3 separate regions of the Homo sapiens genome follow, and all the other regions are linked to region 3. The links are contacts of gene promoters, found by promoter capture Hi-C in blood cells and fetal thymus (Javierre and others, 2016). All regions are on one chromosome and are shown on one strand. The core of a region is centred on a gene start or on the middle of the fragment in contact, and the rest is flanking DNA. Distances in the headings are between cores, read along the strand shown.

Evidence for each region. The method cuts DNA at HindIII sites, captures the fragments that hold promoters and counts their contacts. A CHiCAGO score of 5 or more calls a contact.
Region 1: a fragment that was not itself captured here is called in contact with the fragment with the promoter of OLIG2 in region 3 in 3 of 17 cell types (M2 macrophages, M1 macrophages and naive CD4 T cells); the score reaches 6.3 in M2 macrophages.
Region 2: a fragment that was not itself captured here is called in contact with the fragment with the promoter of OLIG2 in region 3 in 2 of 17 cell types (M0 macrophages and M1 macrophages); the score reaches 7.0 in M0 macrophages.

What each region holds. Positions count from the first base shown.
Region 1 is chr21:32,836,846-32,839,949 of GRCh38, reverse strand. No RefSeq gene overlaps it. Among named protein-coding and RNA genes, the nearest start is that of EPCIP, 25 kb to the right of the region's middle. The HindIII fragment of the contact is 1,145 bases long and covers 1,055-2,199 here.
Region 2 is chr21:33,196,827-33,199,734 of GRCh38, reverse strand. No RefSeq gene overlaps it. Among named protein-coding and RNA genes, the nearest start is that of LINC01548, 28 kb to the right of the region's middle. The HindIII fragment of the contact is 761 bases long and covers 1,272-2,032 here.
Region 3 is chr21:33,024,402-33,027,475 of GRCh38, reverse strand. It overlaps OLIG2 (oligodendrocyte transcription factor 2), which reads right to left and starts at 1,541. Exons shown (of 2, transcript NM_005806.4): 1 at 1,450-1,541; 2 at 1-675. The coding sequence starts at 613. RefSeq lists an enhancer at 810-1,712. The HindIII fragment of the contact is 3,945 bases long and covers 181-3,074 here.

The DNA.
Region 1 (3,104 bases), core at 378-2,877, 190 kb after region 3:
AAGCAGCACCCAGATAGGAAACTGCAGAGGCAGAAGAAGGAGTGAATGAAGAGGTGGAGAGGCCACATGGCTGCAGCTCTGTTCGCTAACTTGATGTTTGAATTCTTTTGCAGGATTATGTCCAATCTCGGGTATTCAGAGGTATATCAGGGAAGCTGATGGAATAAACCAAATGTGGAAGAATCCTGGAGTTATGGTGAACAACCATCCTAGTTTTCTCTGACTCTCCCAGTTTTAGTACTGAAAGTCCCTGTTCAGGGAAACCCCTGAGTCTGAGGCAAATCAAGACAGTTGGCCACCCTGCATAGAGTCATAGAAGTGCATGGTTAAAAGAGACCCTGGAGCCTCATACAACTCCCTCATTTTTGGCCCAGAGAGGTCAAAGAGGCAGCACAGCAAAGAACTCAATGTCTTCTTAATAAATGATGAATAAATCTATTGTCTCGTCATGTGAGTAAAATCACCAGAGATTATTAAATGTAAACATGGTACGAGACAAGGACTGGCACCAGAGTGAGGTGATGTGGGATCTAATCCTGGCTCTGCCACTAAATGGGGACCTTGGGTAGGGGAGCTCTGACCTGCCAGGTACTATACACCGATTATTTCATTAATCTGAATTATACTCCTTTAAAGCAGGATTAATATGCCTGTTTAACAGATGGAAGAATGGGCTCAGAGAAATCAAGTAACTAGCCCAATATCATAGTAAGAGCTAAGATTCGAAGGTCAGTTACTCTGACACCAAAGCATATGTTGTTGCCAAAATAGCCCCTACACTGGTACAAAGCTGATGGCAAATCAGCTGCTTGTTGCTCCCATGAAGGACTCATCAGATGGGAACGGCAATTGGAAGAGATAATTTTTTTTCCATTTCTGCAATGCAATTAAGGATATAATAAAATCATCACAGAATGCCCAAATGATTGATAATTGAGAGACTAGTACCAAGTCTACTTCCAAGAAAGATTTAGATTAGCTAGTGCATGTATTTAACCTGAGCTCTCTTTTCTGTTTTTTAATAACAAACTCAGCATCTGATTGATTTTAAGCTTAAGTTCACCAGTTTCTCATATCCACCAAATCAGAAGATAAACTGTATGAGGATAAGAATTTTGTTCACTGCCATAACCCCGGGGCACTTATGCTTGCCATGTAGTAGGTTTGCAATCCATATCTGTTGGATGTAAGAATGAATGAACAAATGAAACAAATTCAAAATTCAACATAGGAATGTTAAGTAATCTTATTATGTATATATACATGTGATAATTTATTTAAAAGTTGATTGAGCACTCAATACAGGAGGTAGAAATAAGGGAAGTAAAGATTTATCTGCCATGCAAATATTAACCAAAAAATTATTGGATGGATAAACTATAAGGATCAAATTGATCTATATATTTTTAATTTTTATAGATTAGAGCTTTTTTAGACTAAAGGGGGTTAGTAGAAGGTTCCTGTGATGAAATAAAGAATCCTTTTAGCAAAATAATAATGATCATAAACTCATTTTTCTAAAACAGTTGAGGATTTGCTTCCAGTGAAGGACTCTTTTACGGTAACTTGAGTCTCACTTTCCTTTGTTTATGTGGTGACATACATGTAGGAAGCAAAAAGCTGAATGCTTTTCTCTTTTGTTTTTTTTTGAGACAGGGTCTCACTCTGTCACCCAGGCTGGAATGCAGTGGCACAATCATGGCTCACTGCAGCCTTGACCTGCCAGGGCTCAGGTTATCCTCCCATCTCAGCCCCCCAGGTAGCTGGGACTACAGGTGCGCCACCACACCTGGCTGATTTTCATATTTTTTCATAGAGGTGGGATTTTGCCATGTTGCCCAGGCTGGTCTTGAACTCAGCATATGTTATAAACATAATTTCTCTGATAGTAAGGATGATATATGTGGGCATTCAGTACTAGGGGTTTGGGGTTTATGGGTGAATGAAGTTTTATATCACTTACCATGCTCTATGCTCCTTAAACTAGCTAGTGCTTGAAAATGGTATTACCATACATATCTTCAAATATGTATATTTGACAGTGGAGAATAAAAAAGAATAAATCACATAGCTTTAAAAATGATGTCAAATACAGCTTCAGCCTTTAAAACACATTTTAGAGGAAAAAAATTAACTATTATATAGAGTTAATCAAAATAAAACAACTTCTTAGGTTTGATAGCAGATCAAAAGTAAGCTTAAAAGTAATATACAGTGTTTAACATTTATGTGTAAGTTTAGTGGTCTGAGAAATAACTTTCCAATTGTACGGCCACTCTGTATTAGACATGATATTAAGGTAATGATGGAATATGTTCTTTCTTTATGGATACAAGGGATCTATTACCATAAAGAATGAATTAAATCTGTTACTATATCAAGAAAAACAGTGCATAAAATACTAATGCTACAAGAAAATGTGTCTCAGCCGGGTTAACAGATGGGTGAAGTGTGAAGGCAGATAAACTCTGCTTCTTTTGGCTTAGTCTTTATATCTCCCTACAACTATAACTAATCCTCTTTATTTGAACAATTTCAAAGACTCTAATTTTACACACATGGCATGCATACAAGAGACACACTTTTAGTTCCTGCCAGCAGGTAATTAGAAGCAACAAAAAGGTATGTCTTGATGAAGAATTGCCTCACTGCCCAAGCCACCACTTCAGCTGATCCAACAGAAATTCATCCTGTTACAGACCACTGCTCAGAGGCAGAGAAGGTCTGGTTTGCAGAGGAAAAAAAAATCATCCAGCCAATCAGACTTGAAATTGATCAATTCATCCCATTATATTTATGTACAGAAAAAGCCTATTAATTTTTGTATAACTAACTTTATAACCAGGTACTTAGTCATATTATTTCTAACAGCTTTTCAATTGATTTATATGGATTTTAGAGATATATAATGATGTAATCTGCAAATAATTTTCCCCATATTTACAGCTTTTTTTCCTCTTATCTAATTGCACTGGCCAGTACTCCTAGAACAGTATTAAAAAAATAGTTTCCATGGTGACCAATATTGTCTTTAATAACGGAAAAAATGGTTTTAGCATTTTGCCATTTAGCATCATGATGGTTTTTCAACTAATACGTGCATA
Region 2 (2,908 bases), core at 403-2,902, 170 kb before region 3:
AACCCTGTGGATGCTGGACTGTGAGGCTGGGCTGGGGATGGTCCTGGGGTGGGACTCAGTGGACAGGGTAGTGTGGGGAGGATTGAGATGGGGACATTCAGGGAAGTGACTGTGTACCAACCAGTGCAGAAGGATCAACCAGGCTGGAAGATACAGTCTCAAGGCTGAAGATCCGTGTGTCATCATAAAAAAATAGTTTCCTAATATCTGTTCTATAAAACTATCTTTTTATAAAACATCTTCAACTTAGTCTATTGCTCCTGGAAAGAGCCCACAAACAAATATGCTCTTATAAGCAAAAAATCTCTTCCTGGTATGGTTCACGGCTCTCCAAGACATATTCCTTGTCAGTCGGATTCATGCTATTATCCTCACTCTCCTCCTGGCAGTCAGGTTGTGTTGCTGAAACTATAAACACCGCAAGTCTGGAGATAAGATTTGGTGAATTGCAGTTAGAATGTTGAATTTTCTATCACTTTCCGCCTTGTGTTATTGCTACAAAACCAAACCTATCTATCACGCAGCAAGCGCTAACCACAGCAGCCTCTGTGTTTCTACCCTAGTTTTTGATTCTCTATTGTCCTAGTCTCTTGCAGACTAGAAATTGTAAGAGGAGGCATGGTTAATTGAGGGTGGGGTAGAAAGAAGGAAAAGAGGAGGCTAGCAGGGTAGAAACATAGATGATATTGACACATTGAGAAGAGATTGCTAATCTACCATCGTCATTGCTGGGACTCGAGAAGGGCCTTACTGGGATCCAGCCAGGATTAGCTCAGCCACTGCTGCTGTGGTTAGGGTTTGCTACACGATACTCTTTTGAACACATGCCATGGGGACAGTTCTGCACTTCTGCTCCCGTCTGTGGTGTGACAAGGCCGGCTCTGTTCCCTTTTTCCTTCTCAGTCTTAGCTTTTGAGACGCCATGAAACTGACAGTACTGGTTCTGATTATGTGCAAAAACTGGATTCCAACTGCCAAGCATTTCTTTCTCAACTTCTGATTAGCTGCAACTTAGTAGTCATTCAACCTTGAATAAAACAATTTCACCTGAATATAAAAACACGTTTAAAATTAAGAAATTGCTTGCTTACACAATATATTATTCTTTCTTTTTCTGGCATCTTCCTTGCGGTTTAGATGTCATATCGTAACTTCTCCTTCCCCAAAGGGTCAATCCAACTCTAGTGTCTTGTTCCATGTGGGTCTTTTGTTCCTTCCACCCATAATCTAAAGGTCCCAAGGCACTTCCCCTATCCTCCCTCAGCCAAGCTTCATCCTTGGGCTCTGCCCTAGAGTAACTCAGCTGACATCTTAAATATGTCTGATCATGCTAGTTTGTATAATTCCTGTTTTCTGCATGCAGACTATGTGTTTTTCCTAACACACCAGCAAATATTTAGTAACTTTAAATTTATGTGCCAGTATTTTGCAAAGTGCAGTGGGGGGGTACAAAGAATTGAAAACCTGATCTCATCAACTGGAGTTGACTACACATATGTAGGTACGGGAAAGAGTAAGATATAGAGGGTACCACCTGTAGCTGGAGTACCTCCAGCACCGGGCGATGCTTCCCACTTCTCTCCTCTGTAATGCACAGGAAACATTATATTTCCAAATATGATGCATTCCCATGGGTAGCAGTTGCTCTGCCTCTTTCCCAACCAAGAAAGCCTATGGAATTTAGGGATTGTTGGGATGTGATCAAAGGGACAACCTTAAATATCCACTGTTTCTAAGAAGGATCCTTGTTTAGACACTTAGGAACAAATTAACTTATCCCCCTTATCCTGCCCAGCATCCATCAGTGGGTTAGGGAGGTATGGCAGAGGATGGCTGGCAAAGATAGGGCCATTTTCTGCATACAGATCACACTGCAGAGAAATAAACTGAGTTCCCTAGCGGCCTTTGCCTCTGCACTGCTGATTGCAGTTGGTGCCACACTGTGCCAAGTGATAAGCTCTTGAAAAGGAGCAGTTGCGTCGTGTCCTCAGAGGAGGACTGTGTGGAATGTTTGTGTCTGCATATTCAAGCTTGTTGCCAGATCTGCTGTTTCTGGGCCTCTCTCATTCTCAACTTCCTTGTGTTGAAAAATGAAGATATGAATTCCTCTCTCACAAGGGCTGTTGTGGAAATTCAATAAAAGTAATTTTGTGAGAGCTTTTAGCACGGTGCTGGCATTCAAGTGGTTGGTTGCTCAATAAATATTTGCTGGGTGAAAAAAATCTGATATTTACTTCAGAGTTCACTATGTCATTTTTCTTAATGAAAGTATATCCAAGTAGATATCTTGCTAAAATAAGAACAGCTGGAAACTATCTTAAGTGGAATTGCCTGAAGAAGAGGTGTGTCCATTTTCATTGTTTTGTAGAGTTTAGTTCATCCAGCATATCCCTCGCTTCCTTTCCTTCTTTATAGGGTTCCACAAGGAGCTTTGCTGTGGGCGAACTGTTAGCTGGAGCTGTGATAATTAGGCCAAGGTCATGCATCTGTCCCTTGTGGGCCAGTTAGCTCAGCTTGGCTCCATGTCCATACGCATTGATCTTAACCCAGCGGCAGACTCACAAGTGTGTGACCGCATCCCAGAGGACTGCGGGGGAAGGGTTTCTGTGGATCAGGGCAAATCGCTCCTGCCGGAGAAGCACCTTCACGGTCAGCTCTCTTATGGTTATTATGACCTGAAGGTGGCGCTGTTTCTCAAGGAAAACTGGCGTAGGGTCGCCGACAGTCTATTTTAAAGTGAGTGTGAAATGATAGAATGTCAGAGTTGGAGAGAATCTGCGAGGTAATCTTTGGATCGATTTCCTCACTTTCCAGCCAAGGAAACAGATCCAGAGGGATAAAACTCTTGTCAGAAGTCACACCACAGATTCCTGACAGAGGCATGGCTAGACACGGGCCTCCCAGGTCA
Region 3 (3,074 bases), core at 292-2,791:
GGTGCGCGGTGGCGGCGGGCAGGGGCGCGGAGTGCGCCAGGCCGCCGCAGGCCGACGGGTGGAAGCCAGCGTGGTGGCCCCCGTAGATCTCGCTCACCAGTCGCTTCATCTCCTCCAGCGAGTTGGTGAGCATGAGGATGTAGTTGCGCGCCAGCAGCAGCGTGGCGATCTTGGAAAGCTTGCGCACCGAAGGGCCGTGTGCGTACGGCATGACCTCGCGGAGGCCATCCATGGCGATGTTGAGGTCGTGCATGCGCTTGCGCTCGCGGCTGTTGATCTTGAGACGCAGCTGCTGCAGCTCCGGCTCTGTCATTTGCTTCTTGTCCTTCTTGGTGGACGACGCAGCCGCCGACGACGTAGACGACGAGGTGCTGGACGAGGATGACTTGAAGCCACTGCCTCCTAGCTTGTCCCCAGGATGCGCGCCCGCAGAGCCCATAGCGCCGCGCAGCTCGGCGCTCAGCTCCGGCGGGCAGTCACTCGGGGTGGACGAGGACACGGTGCCCCCAGTGAAGGCGCTGCCGCTGCTGCCCTTACTCCGGGCCGGCAGAAAAAGGTCATCGGGCTCTGGCGACGACGGGCGGCTGGACACCAGGCTGGCGTCCGAGTCCATGGCCCCAGGGGAAGATAGTCGTCGCAGCTTTCGCAGGGTCCTCCTTCCCTCGGACCCGAAAACTTCCAGGAGAGGAGGAGAAAAGAGAGAGAATGAGAGAGAGAGAGAGGGAGAGAGAGAGAGAGTGAGTCAGTGAGAGACAGAAAAGCTGCTCCCGCCTGCACCGCAGTACCACAGCGCGGGGTCCCGGCACAGGTGGCCCGTGGCTCCTCGTCCCCCTCGCTACTATCTCTGGCCCTCCTTTTAGCTGCACGCGGGTACCTATAATTAAGCTCTCTCTATCTCCCCTCTGCTCTCATGCAACAGGTTATTTCAGGGAGCGTTGGTGACCCTCGGGGTGCGGGTGGCATTCTAGAGGCTTCGGGCTTTCAGTTAGGTGTGGGAAAACTGAGCCCCCGGGCTGGAATAAACGAGTGGGAAGTGAGGGCCTTTCTTTGGGGAGAATGGAGATCTAGATAGAGAACTAATGATTTGGTTCCTCAAACGGATCCACCTTATCTCCATCGACACCACGCAGCAAACACACGCACACGCACATGCACCCAGAGCCGGCGCGGGGCCCAGAGTCCATGTGCTGCATCTGGAGACCACGGGGAGCTCACCAGCTGACTGGGGCTTGGGCAGAAAGAGCTGTTGTCGCTCCGACTTCTCGCTTTTGGTGAGGGAGATGCAGCGGTGAGTGTGGGGAGGACAGAAGAGCAAAGTCGCTCTGGAGAAATGGCCCGCAGAGTAGGGATCCAGACCCCCTGTATCGGAGCATTCTGGGTCACAGCCGAGTTGAGGAGAGTCTGTCCCTGGGATCTAGGCTGCGGCTGCTGTGGGGCGGGGACACTTACTCTGGATGCGATTTGAGGAGCTCGCTCCGAAAAGCCTCAGGGGAGAACCTGGCACCGGGCGCTGGTGTCGCGTCGATCTATAATAAGCATCCGCACCTTTAGGGGCTCGGCCGGTTTTTATAGCCCGGTGGCAGCGGCGACGGCGGCAGCGGTGGCGGGGGCGGGGGCGGGGAACAATGTGCGTGTCCTGGAGGGGCTGCCTCGCCAATGAGCTGGGCCCGCCGGGGGGCTGGGAAGCTGATGTCATCCGGGCTAATTCCGCTCAATGAAACTCGCCAGGCCGGGCACACGCCTCCTCCCTGCGCACAACCAATGGGCGCCCGTGGCCGGGAGATTCTTGGGGAGGGACTGGAGGAGGGACCCGAGGAGGCGAGGGGGAGGAGAAGGGCGGCTCAAGGGGGATGGAGGGAGGGCTGAGCGCGCTTGGGACCAAGGGAGAAAGGGAACGTGGTCAAATTTCTGTAAAAAATACGGCCACCACAGAGTCAGGTTGGGGGATGGGATGGTTTGGAGACTCTGCAGAGTCTAACAAACTAACCTGATGCCCCACGCAGCCGCACCTTTTGGGATGCGCGCGGAAAACCCTGGCGACCCAGGATCCGGGGCTGGGGTCTCCTCCCTAGCTCTTCCTCTGTCTGGTTTCCCGCCGCCTGTTCCCATCTCACTGGTTTCATCAACACGTGGGCATTTGGCGCCCCAAATGTAAACGATGCCCAGGCACAAAGTCCCCACTATCTTGGTGCTCTACTCGCGCGTCTAGGAGATGGCCGTGGCTGCAGCTCCGACGGCAGCCGGTAGCGCCCCCAGCTGGGGGCAGGGACTTGAGGGGTAGAGGGCGGGCAAGGAGGGAGGGGACGGACTCCAGAAGAGTGTTTTGAAAGAATTCACAACTCTCCTTTAGGTTGAGGATGGTGTGGGTACAGGGACGAGTTATTTCCGCACGGTAACCGCGCTAGCACAAGGGCAGGGTCGTGCCTGTAGTTAAACACCCCTCCATTTATTAGCAGGGGAGCCGGATGATAGTAAGTATTTTCAGTGTCGTCTTTGTGATCACCACACGCCTTGGGGCAGGGGCAACGCTGGCATCTGTAGTCCAAGCAGGGCTCCGCTGTAAAAGGTTAGCAAAGAGCCTTCCGTCCCAGTCGCCTGCTTTCTGGAACTGCAAAGAGAAGTTTCAGGCCTGGGCAAGGCTTCTCCACGCTGTGGGCCAGACAGCGAGATGGAACCACTCGCGACCGCGTTGGGACATGTTTTACCGATTGCAGGCTGGCTCTGAAACCTGAAAACTCTTGACGATGAGGAATTAAGCCCGAACTGGAGAAGCACCTCACGGAGGTAGCTGAGGTACGGATGCATTCACCCATTTTACAGATGGGAAAAGCCAGAGACCGTGTGCAGCAAGCCTACAGAAAAAATTGCTAAGCCTTTACAGAGCAGCCCTGCTTGGACTACAGATGCTGGCGTTGGCGGTTCCTTATAGTACAGGCAGCCACCTGTCTCCCCCAGTCCCTAATCTCTTCCCCGAGCTGAATTTCTCACACCCATACATTTCGAATTCAGACATTTGTTTCTGCAGATCTCGGATGCTAGCACTTGACACTGTGAGCGCACGCGCGGGCACACAC